Linked DNA regions of Homo sapiens: regions 1 and 2 are each linked to region 3. Evidence: promoter capture Hi-C in human tissues and cell types (Jung and others, 2019). All regions are on one chromosome and are shown on one strand. The core of a region is centred on a gene start or on the middle of the fragment in contact, and the rest is flanking DNA. Distances in the headings are between cores, read along the strand shown. Region 1 overlaps PDZRN3 (PDZ domain containing ring finger 3). Region 2 overlaps RYBP (RING1 and YY1 binding protein). Region 3 holds the start of GXYLT2 (glucoside xylosyltransferase 2).

What was found. The method cuts DNA at HindIII sites, captures the fragments that hold promoters and counts their contacts. A contact is called where the count stands out against the background at its distance.
Region 1: a fragment that was not itself captured here is called in contact with the fragment with the promoter of GXYLT2 in region 3 in 1 of the 25 tissues and cell types used here (dorsolateral prefrontal cortex).
Region 2: a contact is called between a fragment that was not itself captured here and the fragment with the promoter of GXYLT2 in region 3, in 1 of the 25 tissues and cell types used here (IMR-90 fibroblasts).

What each region holds. Positions count from the first base shown.
Region 1 is chr3:73,501,575-73,504,882 of GRCh38, forward strand. All of the region lies in intron 3 of PDZRN3 (PDZ domain containing ring finger 3), which reads right to left. Among named protein-coding and RNA genes, the nearest start is that of PDZRN3-AS1, 120 kb to the right of the region's middle. RefSeq lists an enhancer at 1,093-1,162. The HindIII fragment of the contact is 3,053 bases long and covers 53-3,105 here.
Region 2 is chr3:72,374,237-72,377,252 of GRCh38, forward strand. It overlaps RYBP (RING1 and YY1 binding protein), which reads right to left. Exons shown (of 4, transcript NM_012234.7): 4 at 361-3,016. Among named protein-coding and RNA genes, the nearest start is that of RYBP, 71 kb to the right of the region's middle. The HindIII fragment of the contact is 4,095 bases long and covers 1-3,016 here.
Region 3 is chr3:72,886,293-72,889,545 of GRCh38, forward strand. GXYLT2 (glucoside xylosyltransferase 2) reads left to right here and starts at 1,754. Exons shown (of 7, transcript NM_001080393.2): 1 at 1,754-2,216. The coding sequence starts at 1,942. RefSeq lists silencers at 1,794-2,023, 2,124-2,253. The HindIII fragment of the contact is 12,200 bases long and covers 1-3,253 here.

The sequences.
Region 1 (3,308 bases), core at 329-2,828, 620 kb after region 3:
TAAAAAGCATAAATAATAATGTTGGAAAGAAGTGGATGCAACGCGAGGCTCTCAGGGTGTCAAAGGAAAACCTCGTTAAACTTGGCTCTCTAGCTCCATATTTGGTGAGAATAAGGTGGGTGACATTGACATCCACATTCTAAAACAAGTCATTAGAAGGCCAGGTGTGGTGGCTCATACCTGTAATCCCAGCACTTTCAGAGGCTGAGGCGGGCAGATCACTTGAGGTCAGGAGTTCAAGAACAGCCTGGCCAACATGGTGAAACCCCATCTCTGCTAAAAATACAAAAAATTAGCCGGGTATGTTGGTACACACCTGTAATCCCAGCTACTCAGGAGGCTGAGGCAGGAGAATCGCTTGAACCTGGGAGGCGGAGATGCAGTGAGCTGAGATCGCATCACTGCACTCCAGCCTGGGTGACAGAACCAGATTCAGTATCAAAATAAATAAATGAAATGAAATAAAATAAAATAAAACAAGTCATTAGAAAATGAAGCTCCTTGAATTGCTGCTAGCTTGTAGACCAAATGCAACCGTTTTCTTAGAGCTGTGCTATTAAGCAAAGAGAAACAACAGTGGGCTAAGTGAGAAAAAAATAAGGCACTACTTACACATGTGCATCTTGATTTGGTTGCTCATGATGGAGAATCAAGTAAAGGGTCACAATGAAGAATCATGGCATGGAATCAGGTATAAAACCTTTTGTTTGGGGTAATAATTATGCATTCAGTCAAAACTATAACTTGGTTGCAGTCAAAATGATAGGTTTTTATTTTAAAAAGATTCCATTTCCATAATGGTGTTCTCTGGCATCTAAATAATTGCTTTCCTAAAAGATGGGAACTGTTAGGTGGAGCTGAGAAAAGATACTGAGTTCTCCATAAGTTAAGGCCACCAACAACTAAAATTATCTTCTCCAATATCCATTGATTCTATTTAACATTTATCTTTCTGAGTTTTCTTTTACTATAGCGGTTTCCCTTCAACTCCCTCCCTTGCCTTACCCATAAGGCTGCGTGGTCAGAATTCCTATTTTATGGTATGCTATGTTCTGAGACTGGCAGCTCATGAAACCAGGCAGCTGTAAGAAATGACAAATTTCAACAGTACAGCTATAGAGAAGGCAGCTCGGTCAAGGATGTTAAATGGTCAGATGGAAAGCAAATCCCCCAGAGGCCAGGTATTTCTAAAGATCAGCTGTGTGGCATCTTACAGAAAATCCTAGAGCCTGGTATCATTGAGACTGCAGCCCTCCTCTCTCAGTTGAAACGAATGATCAAGACGTGGTACCAGAGCACCACCTGCTGGCTCACAGGTGACAGTGTCTTACACAAAATACTTTCTACAAGATGGTCATTTTGATCTGTTAAGTAAGAATTTGCAAGAGACAGGTGTGAAAACACAGTTGTGGTTTTGCACTTCTGGGGCTGTGTATATGAATACTGTTGGTCAGAGAATATTATACTATCATGGATAGTAGTTTTGTTGTTTTGAATAAAACAATTTTATCTCAATGCTTTCTTGATTTTAACTTAAAAATTTTAACATTTTACTAACATAAAATGTCATGAAGTACTTTGGTAACCCAGTCCATTTAAAAGAAATTAAACTAGTTTTAGATACTAGTGTTTCCTTTATAAGCTAAACCTATACTTGTTTTAATGGTTCCCTCAAATTTTCTCTATTAGGTGCTACCTTTACAAGCAAATGTATAAGTGGTCCTTTATTTACTTGAAGATTCTGAGGTCATAAATCTGACGTAAGTTCCATTTACAAATGATGAGTGCGTTAAACATCTGGGAATGCATAACCAAAGTCTAGCATTACACATGAATATTTTTAAACCTCAAGGAAGTATGATTTCATTCTTTAAATACCAGGCTTCAAAAAAAGTATGATTTCTTCACTTTAAATCATTTCTTTATCCGTAAAGCTTTAATGAAAGTATTATTCCCATTGCTGTCTACTTGGCCTTATCCAATGAACAATAAAAAATTCTTCTTTTGCTTTGTTTGGTAGTTTTTGACTATAGAGGACATCATCTAATGCTTTTCCCTATGTACTTTGCAAGGTCTTAAATGACAATACAAGTACGTTTCCAAAAATGTAACACAGCATTTATTGTGTCTGAACTCAACTCTCTCAGTGCAACCATGAACGTGCCTTGAGAAACTTGGTAAAAGCTTTGAACTTTTTTGGGGCAGAAAGGTATCACAAACTGAAATTAAACCTAGAATTAAGGCTTTTATACAAAATGTATACAAAGATCAAGTTCTGCTCTCTGACACATAGGAAAGAAAGCAAGAGTGGGGAGGGGGAGAGCCTAAACAGATGTGTTTTTGTATCATGCAGTCGACTTCTGCATCTGAAACGTAACTCAGCGAAACAGAAACCCAGCCATGTGACTCCTTTTCTGTAGAGAATAGAGTTGAACACAGTATCCCGAAGTCACAGGGCATGTGCTAGACATTCACTTATTCATATTTCTGCCTTCTTTATAAACAGAAATTAATATTACACTGCTGTGTATGTGTGTCTGCTTTTCTTGAGTACTTTATTATTCTCTCCAGATGCCCACCTGATGTACCTCATTCTCACAATTAAAACAGTTATATGGTTAAACACACAGGAATAGACTTAGTTAGCATGTGGTGTAACAAATGAACTCACATAAAATTTACATGATTTAATTAGCTGATAATGGGTCATTAATTGAGGGACTGAAGAAAGGAAACATATTCTCTTGGACACATAAAGGCGCCATTCAGGAAGAATAGATTTGTTTTTACTCAGCCCTTCTCAGGAGAACCACCTGTGCAAATACGGGGCTCAAGTCAGATGACAAGCAGGGTTTTTATGGGACCAGGAAGATTTTCATCTCCATGACAACCTTCCTGGTTCCAAACAGAGAATGTTATTTTTCTGGACTCCTCATCTCAGCCACACCAGTGGACTCAATTCGGCCCTGACATGCATCTGAACACTCTTTCTTGGACAGCCATTATTAACCTGGGCTGCTTCTGACAAATCATTTGGTTGGTGATTACAGATCTGACATATTTTGTAATGACTCCATTTTCTGAGGGCTTCATTTTCAAGAAGTGAAATAATGCTGTGACTTAACACCTCCCTGCAACCACAAGCCACTTTCCCATCTCCAAAGTATACCACTTTTTATTAAGGAGGTCTTATACCCACATAAGTCACTAGCTTGTATATATAAAGATAACTGCGTTAGTATCATTTAAGTGCATGTATATGATCTAATTTTTCATTATATTAATTAACAACATAATTGATTGACCTG
Region 2 (3,016 bases), core at 86-2,585, 510 kb before region 3:
CCAGTTGGCCAGAAACAGGGGTTGTCTTTTGAGGATTTTCAGTCCTCAATTAGCATATTTTAGCATCATCTCCATTTTCTTTCCTTAAATCCCATTTCCTTCCTTTACATCATTGCAATCTATCTCAAAGGTTACACTTAGGAGACAGTTCATTTTCTTTCAAATTTTGGTGATTCTTTTGCCCCATTATGTCTCCTTTTGCATCTTTGAGGTATGTACTTAAGATACCCAGCTATTTCAGCTTCTGATAAACAAGTTCTAAAATACAAAGTGAGCTTCCTATTCACATTGGAAATATTCCACAGATTAAAAATTAACTATTATTCTAAAGGCTAAAATCTATACACACAAAAATAAAGATTTCCAATGTAAATTTTACTATTTTATTTGTGAAAAAACTACAAGCAGAATTCATAAATAGACATTTCTATTTAAAGCAGGAAAATGATAAAGTGGCTTCTAATAACATAGTCGTGCACATGCCAGTAACAGGAATATATTAACATCTTTTATTTGCTAGACAAAGAGCAGTGTCCAATATAAATTTCCCCCAAAACATTTAAGACCTGTGAATTTTTGACCAGTTCACAAAACCACCAACTGACACTTTAGCATGAAGAAAAAAACAAACCTAACAGACTGTCAGCTCTAAAGACATTACAGAGCAGAAACTTCCAAAAGCGTTATACAAGCTGTCTTTCTGGGCAAATGAAAAATATAGCTCGTATAATACATTAACAAAAATTCACAAGATAAGATTGTTTTGACATACTTAACAAGCATTCTCTATTTGTCTCCAACAAACAAAGCTAAGGAAATAATGTAACCATCTTTACACAGTAAATTAAGGTTACAAGTCATACACAAGAACAGAACTGCTTGCGCATTAAAAACTGTTCAGCTCCATTGTCATACTCTAAATGTTGGCTCTTAAACCATTTTCGGTTACATACAAGCAAAGGTTATTATATATTCAGCAATTAATAAATTTTCAATAATTTAAGATACGGTAGCTTAAAAAAGTAGACTGAGAATGGTCTTGATAAGGCAGGTGAAACATCTTAGTGGAACTAAACTCACAGAAGCTTCTGCCAATGTTTTTAAATATCCAGATTGAAACTGAAAGGTTTTGATTAGAATATTGTGTGGGTGTCAAGATGTCTTTTTTTTTGTAACTGCATGACTCAAGCAGAGCAAGTCAGGTAAGCTCTGTGTGCGCGCACACGCACGAGTGTGAAAGATTGCGTGGTATTAAAACAAATGGAAACTTGCAAGCGTAACACTGTGCTTTTTGTTTGTTTAACCTGCTTTCTGTGCCACTGAATACCAAGTATTTCTGGTCCTCTTTTAATGTATATCTTTATAATCTACACTAGTGTTTTTACACGCTGCCTACTAATTGTAGGGCATACTGCAGACACAGGAAGTTACAGGAATTCCATTTCCAGAATACATGCCTGAGGGATGTCATCAATTTCCAAAATTAAAAGTCTATAAAGTACCTACTACCTCACTACCCAACAGAATACACCACAGCAGCTAAAGGGCTGGCCCTGTAACATCTGATTGCTTAGATAACTCCCACTGTTAGCTGCGGTTTCTACAAAGATGGTAATTTCATGCCACTTGTTCTAAAGCAATCTTCTTCCCCTTCCTTCACCCCTCCCCATTCTTTAATTTATCACGGAGGCAAAACTGAAAAACCAAAACATTGGCATGAATGAATTAGCAGCCTATGAGTAGCTGGTTAATCAGCTTTTTCCACTAATCTATGGGGTCCAATCACTTTACATGAAACTAGTTTTTGAAAAAGTACACAGTGTGTCTGAACAAAGTGCATACCAACAGTTATTGGTTCAATAAGCAGTGCAACCTACATGAGTTTGGTGGCATTTAAGTTTTTTCAAAAAGTTAAAAACAGCAATTTCTTAAACCTCTGGAAAATAAATATGGCTGACTAATTTACCCTCCCTGAGACCCTTAATAAAAGGAATATTAAAACTTTAGAAGGAATGTCTTTGCAATATCCCACCAATATTAAAATGTGGATTTAAAATTCATAGTCAAATCACTATGTATTATATATTCTGATGCTTATAGAAAGCATCTGATTTCCTTTGGTTCATTAATAAATACTTTAAAAATGTATTTAAAAAGATAAGCAAAGCTTGCATCCCAGACACAAGCATTATTTTAAAAAGGGGGGAACATTGTCCATGCATTTGAGAATAGGACCACAGCAACAAATGGCACTGCTTTATAATCTATACCTTTGAGAAAAGAATTTAAATTATGGTACATTAGTGACTACAGAATAGTTTTAATGTAAATGTGAAAGGAACCTTTCCTGTTGGCTACTCAATTCAAGCTGTTAATTTTTTTATTTGTTGCCTCCACAGACAGAAATTACTGCTATTATTAAGCAAACCAGGTTTTTAACACCAAAATGTGGTGCTTCATTACAAATCAGGCTGCCCTCCCGTGAGTCCCTAAAGGTCAAATAAAGAGAGGTAACCTCAAATTCTCATGCTTGAAATGTCTCTGAAGTACTACAAACTCTGTATCTAAATGTAAAAGTCAAATAGAAGAGAGACCCCACATCCAAACAAAAGCAAAACAAAATTTTAAAAAATTATTTTAATAAGGAGAGGTGGAATCTTATTAGTGGTCTTTGATTATTTTTTTTTTTTTTTTTTTTGCAAGACAGTAAAAAGAGTGAAGAGAATGAAATAGAACAGTTTACTCAAGCTATCTTTATGTCCAGGAAGAAAAAAGATTACATGCTGCTCGCAGTAAGTACGAGCTTTCCCTGCAACTCTGGCTGCAGGCGCGCAAGCCGTTCACCACTGGAGTTCCTACCACAGCAGGGGATTGAGAAATGTCTCCAAACACTGAAAAGCTCCATGTCAGGACTGGATGTGTGGTTGATAACCTTTGTTCAGTAAAACAAATCATAGTAGGTTTTGAGAAGGAAAAAAAGAATGCTCACAACTGAATCGGTAGAGTGAAGGTTTAT
Region 3 (3,253 bases), core at 504-3,003:
GTCAGCCTTCCCACAATTCCAGATGCTTCCTGGTAGGATGGAACCTTCTCCCTCATCTTTGAGAACTAATGGATTCTTTGCGCTTACTCACCTACAACATGTCCCCCACACTGAACTTGCACCCTGCCATTTCCTAGATGTCTGCTTGGCAAGAGCTTCCAAATTACTAAATATTCTCATCTCTAGAACTTTTAATACAATGGGTTCTCAAGGAATTAAAATAAAATGCTAATATGAGAATAATTCAGAATATAACTAAATTTTAGATTATTTATAAAGCAACATGGAATCTTGTAGAAACTCAGGGACGGGCTGGGCGCGGTGGCTCATGCCTGTAATCCCAGCACTTTGGAAGAACGAGACGGGCGGATCACTTGAGGTCAGGTGTTCAAGACCAGCCTGGCCAACGTGGTGAAACCCCGTCTCTACTAAATATACAAAAATCAGCCGGGTGTGGTGGCGCAGCCTGTAATCCCAGCTACTTGGGAGGCTGAGGCAGGAGAATGGCTTGAACCCGGGAGGCGGAGGCTGCGGTGAGTTAAGATTGCACCATTGCACTCCTGCCTGGGCTACAGAGTGATCCAAAAAAAAAAAAAAAAAAAAAACTGAAAAACTCAGGGACGTTGTTATAACTTAACTAGTGTTCTTTGTTCTGTGGTGTGCTGAAAAGAGAGTTAATGGAGTCCTGGCTGTCAGTTCACCGTGAGTCATAAGAGGATGTGTCCTAATGTTTCAGATTTGTAACTGGGGATCCCCTGGAAGAATCGTCTGGAAATTACGACCTTCATCTGGCGATTGCAGCTGTTAAAGTCTCCAAAGAAGCCATTCTTACATTGTGTTGTGAAATTATTACTCTATCTCAAATCTGTGCCAGAAAGAAAATAAAATGTGTGTTTATGTGTATATTATAAGCTATGTTTTATTGAACTAATCATTACAGAACTTTTATTGGGCACCGACTGTGAGCCAGGCACTGTGCTAGTTTCTTTGAAGGCATTATTTAATTTAATGCTCACAAAACGCCTCTGTAGTGAGCAGTATTGTCATTCCCATTTTGCACGTAAGGAAGTTAAGGCTTAAGAAAGTTGTGCAGCTTCCTCAGGATCACCAAGCCAGTTAAGCACAGTGTCAGATTTCAAATCCAAACTTTGAAATTCATTCTCTAATTTCTTCAGACTACATGGATCGGTTCGGTCCAGTCTAGCTGTCCCAAGTTCTACTTTGGTGTTTTGAGTCTGAAACCCCAACTACTAATCACGTGTTACTTTTACTCGCTTTGCCTTATTTTGCATGTGTCCTTGTTGAATATGTCCTCCTCCAGGAAAAAGGGAGGTGGCAAGACAGAGGCGGCAATAGGGGTTTATTCAACAGATATTTATTGGGCACCACCACCCGCAGATCCCTGCACTGGGCAAACAGGACAGAGATGTTCCTGCCTGAAAGGATGTGTGGATAAGTGCACAAATGTGTGGATAGATGGATAAAATAAATAAGGAGGAAGCACATGGAATACATCAACAAATAAGTGAATCATGGTATGAGAGAATCAGCGGGAACAGTGGATGGCATGGGTGTGTGAGTGAATGGGGAAGTAAACGAACGAACGAACGAATGAATGAATGAAGTGGTTTTGAGTCTGAGCTACCAGAAGCCCGAGAGCCTGGCTGCGGGCGGGCGGAGGGGCGGCTACTCCACACAGTACGGTAGGCGCAGGCTGCTCCTCCTGTAACCCAGCTCTCACCGCCTCCCCCTCCTCTCCTCTCTCTCCTCCTCCTTCGCCGTCGCCGCCGCCGCCGGCCGCCCGCCGGCCGCCACGACCCCAGTCCCCGGCGGGCGGGCGGAGGAGGCGACCGCCGCGCGCTGCTGCACTCATCCTGCCGCCGCCGCGATGCGCAGAGGGGCCGAGCCGCCTGGGGGCCGCCGCCGCCGCCGCGCCGCACCATGAAGCTCCGCAGCAAGGCGGCGGCGCTGCTCTTGCTCGCGCTGGCCGCGCTGCTGCTGGCGCTGCTGTCCCTGCGCGCTGGCCGCGCTGAGCCCCCAGCGCTGCCCGCGCGCCCCGCGTCCGCCCCGCAGCGCCACCCCGCGCCTGTCCCCGCGCGCTGGCCGGGGCCGGGCGCCCTCCCCGGGGCCAGCCCGGGAGTTCGGAGGCGCCGGCCCCCGCGTCCGCGCCCCCGAGCGGGCCGCCGGGGCGCTGCGAGACTGGAGAAGTTGGCGAGGTGAGTCGTGGCAACCCCAGAATCCCATCTGCGGACCCGTGTCTCGCTCCCTACACCCGTGCCAAGTCCAAGGGAGGCTTTGCGCTGGAGAGACAGATTTCCAAGTTTCACCCACGGGCTGCCCACTTCTGTTTCTTAACCCGATAGAAAAGAAGACCCACCTTGGTGGAGTCCCCCTAACAGCTCGGTGTTGATAATCACGTACATTTTTTGAAGTGTCAAGGAAAGTGGTTTCGTACATTACATTTTTTAACTGTCAAGGCAAGGCGTATTTTTGCACTCTTGCAAACATGCACCCTTTGTTTAATTTGTCAAAAGCCATCACGGTGCAAGAATGTTTTATCTAATTCTCATGTTTCACTGGAGAATTTTACCGAAACCTTAGATATGGTTGAGTTGGAAAAGTTAGATGTTTACCAAGGACTGGCAGCCTCTCATTTAACCTCGAGTACCCCCATGCTTAGAACAGAAGGGACACTTGACCTAAGTTTATTAAAAAGAAGTTTTCTCCTTGAAAGGACTGATGCGTGGCACAGAAAAGACAGAGTGGGGGTTTCCAGATCCTCATTCTGTTTCAGGCTCGAGTGTGGTCAAAGGGTCCTCCTACAAGAAAAACAACTTAACCTTCGACCTTCTGTTTGATACTCTCTTTCCCTACACAAAGCCTAACACGCGGAGGCTTTTCATCAGAGAGCTTTATTTTTGGCCTCAGGGTTGCTGGAACGCCCCGCAGGTTAGGGATTTGAGTTCATTTCCTTTGTTGTGGAGGGCTTTTCAACAATCCCCTTGTCTTGTAGCGAGTCTGTTTCATCTGCCCTTTCAAAACTGTTGTTTCTAACTGCCATTGCAACGTCCTTGTTTGCTGGGCTCCTTAATTTCAACCTGAAAGGAGTTGAAAAATTATTTTTGACCATAATGACTAAATCTCTTTGGTGCCTTTACTGTAACTAAAAGACACGAAACCTCAAGAAGTAGCTGTGTCAGCCTTTGTTTCCCTTCTGTCTCAGTACAAATGGGTACTGACAAGTTTTAGGGGG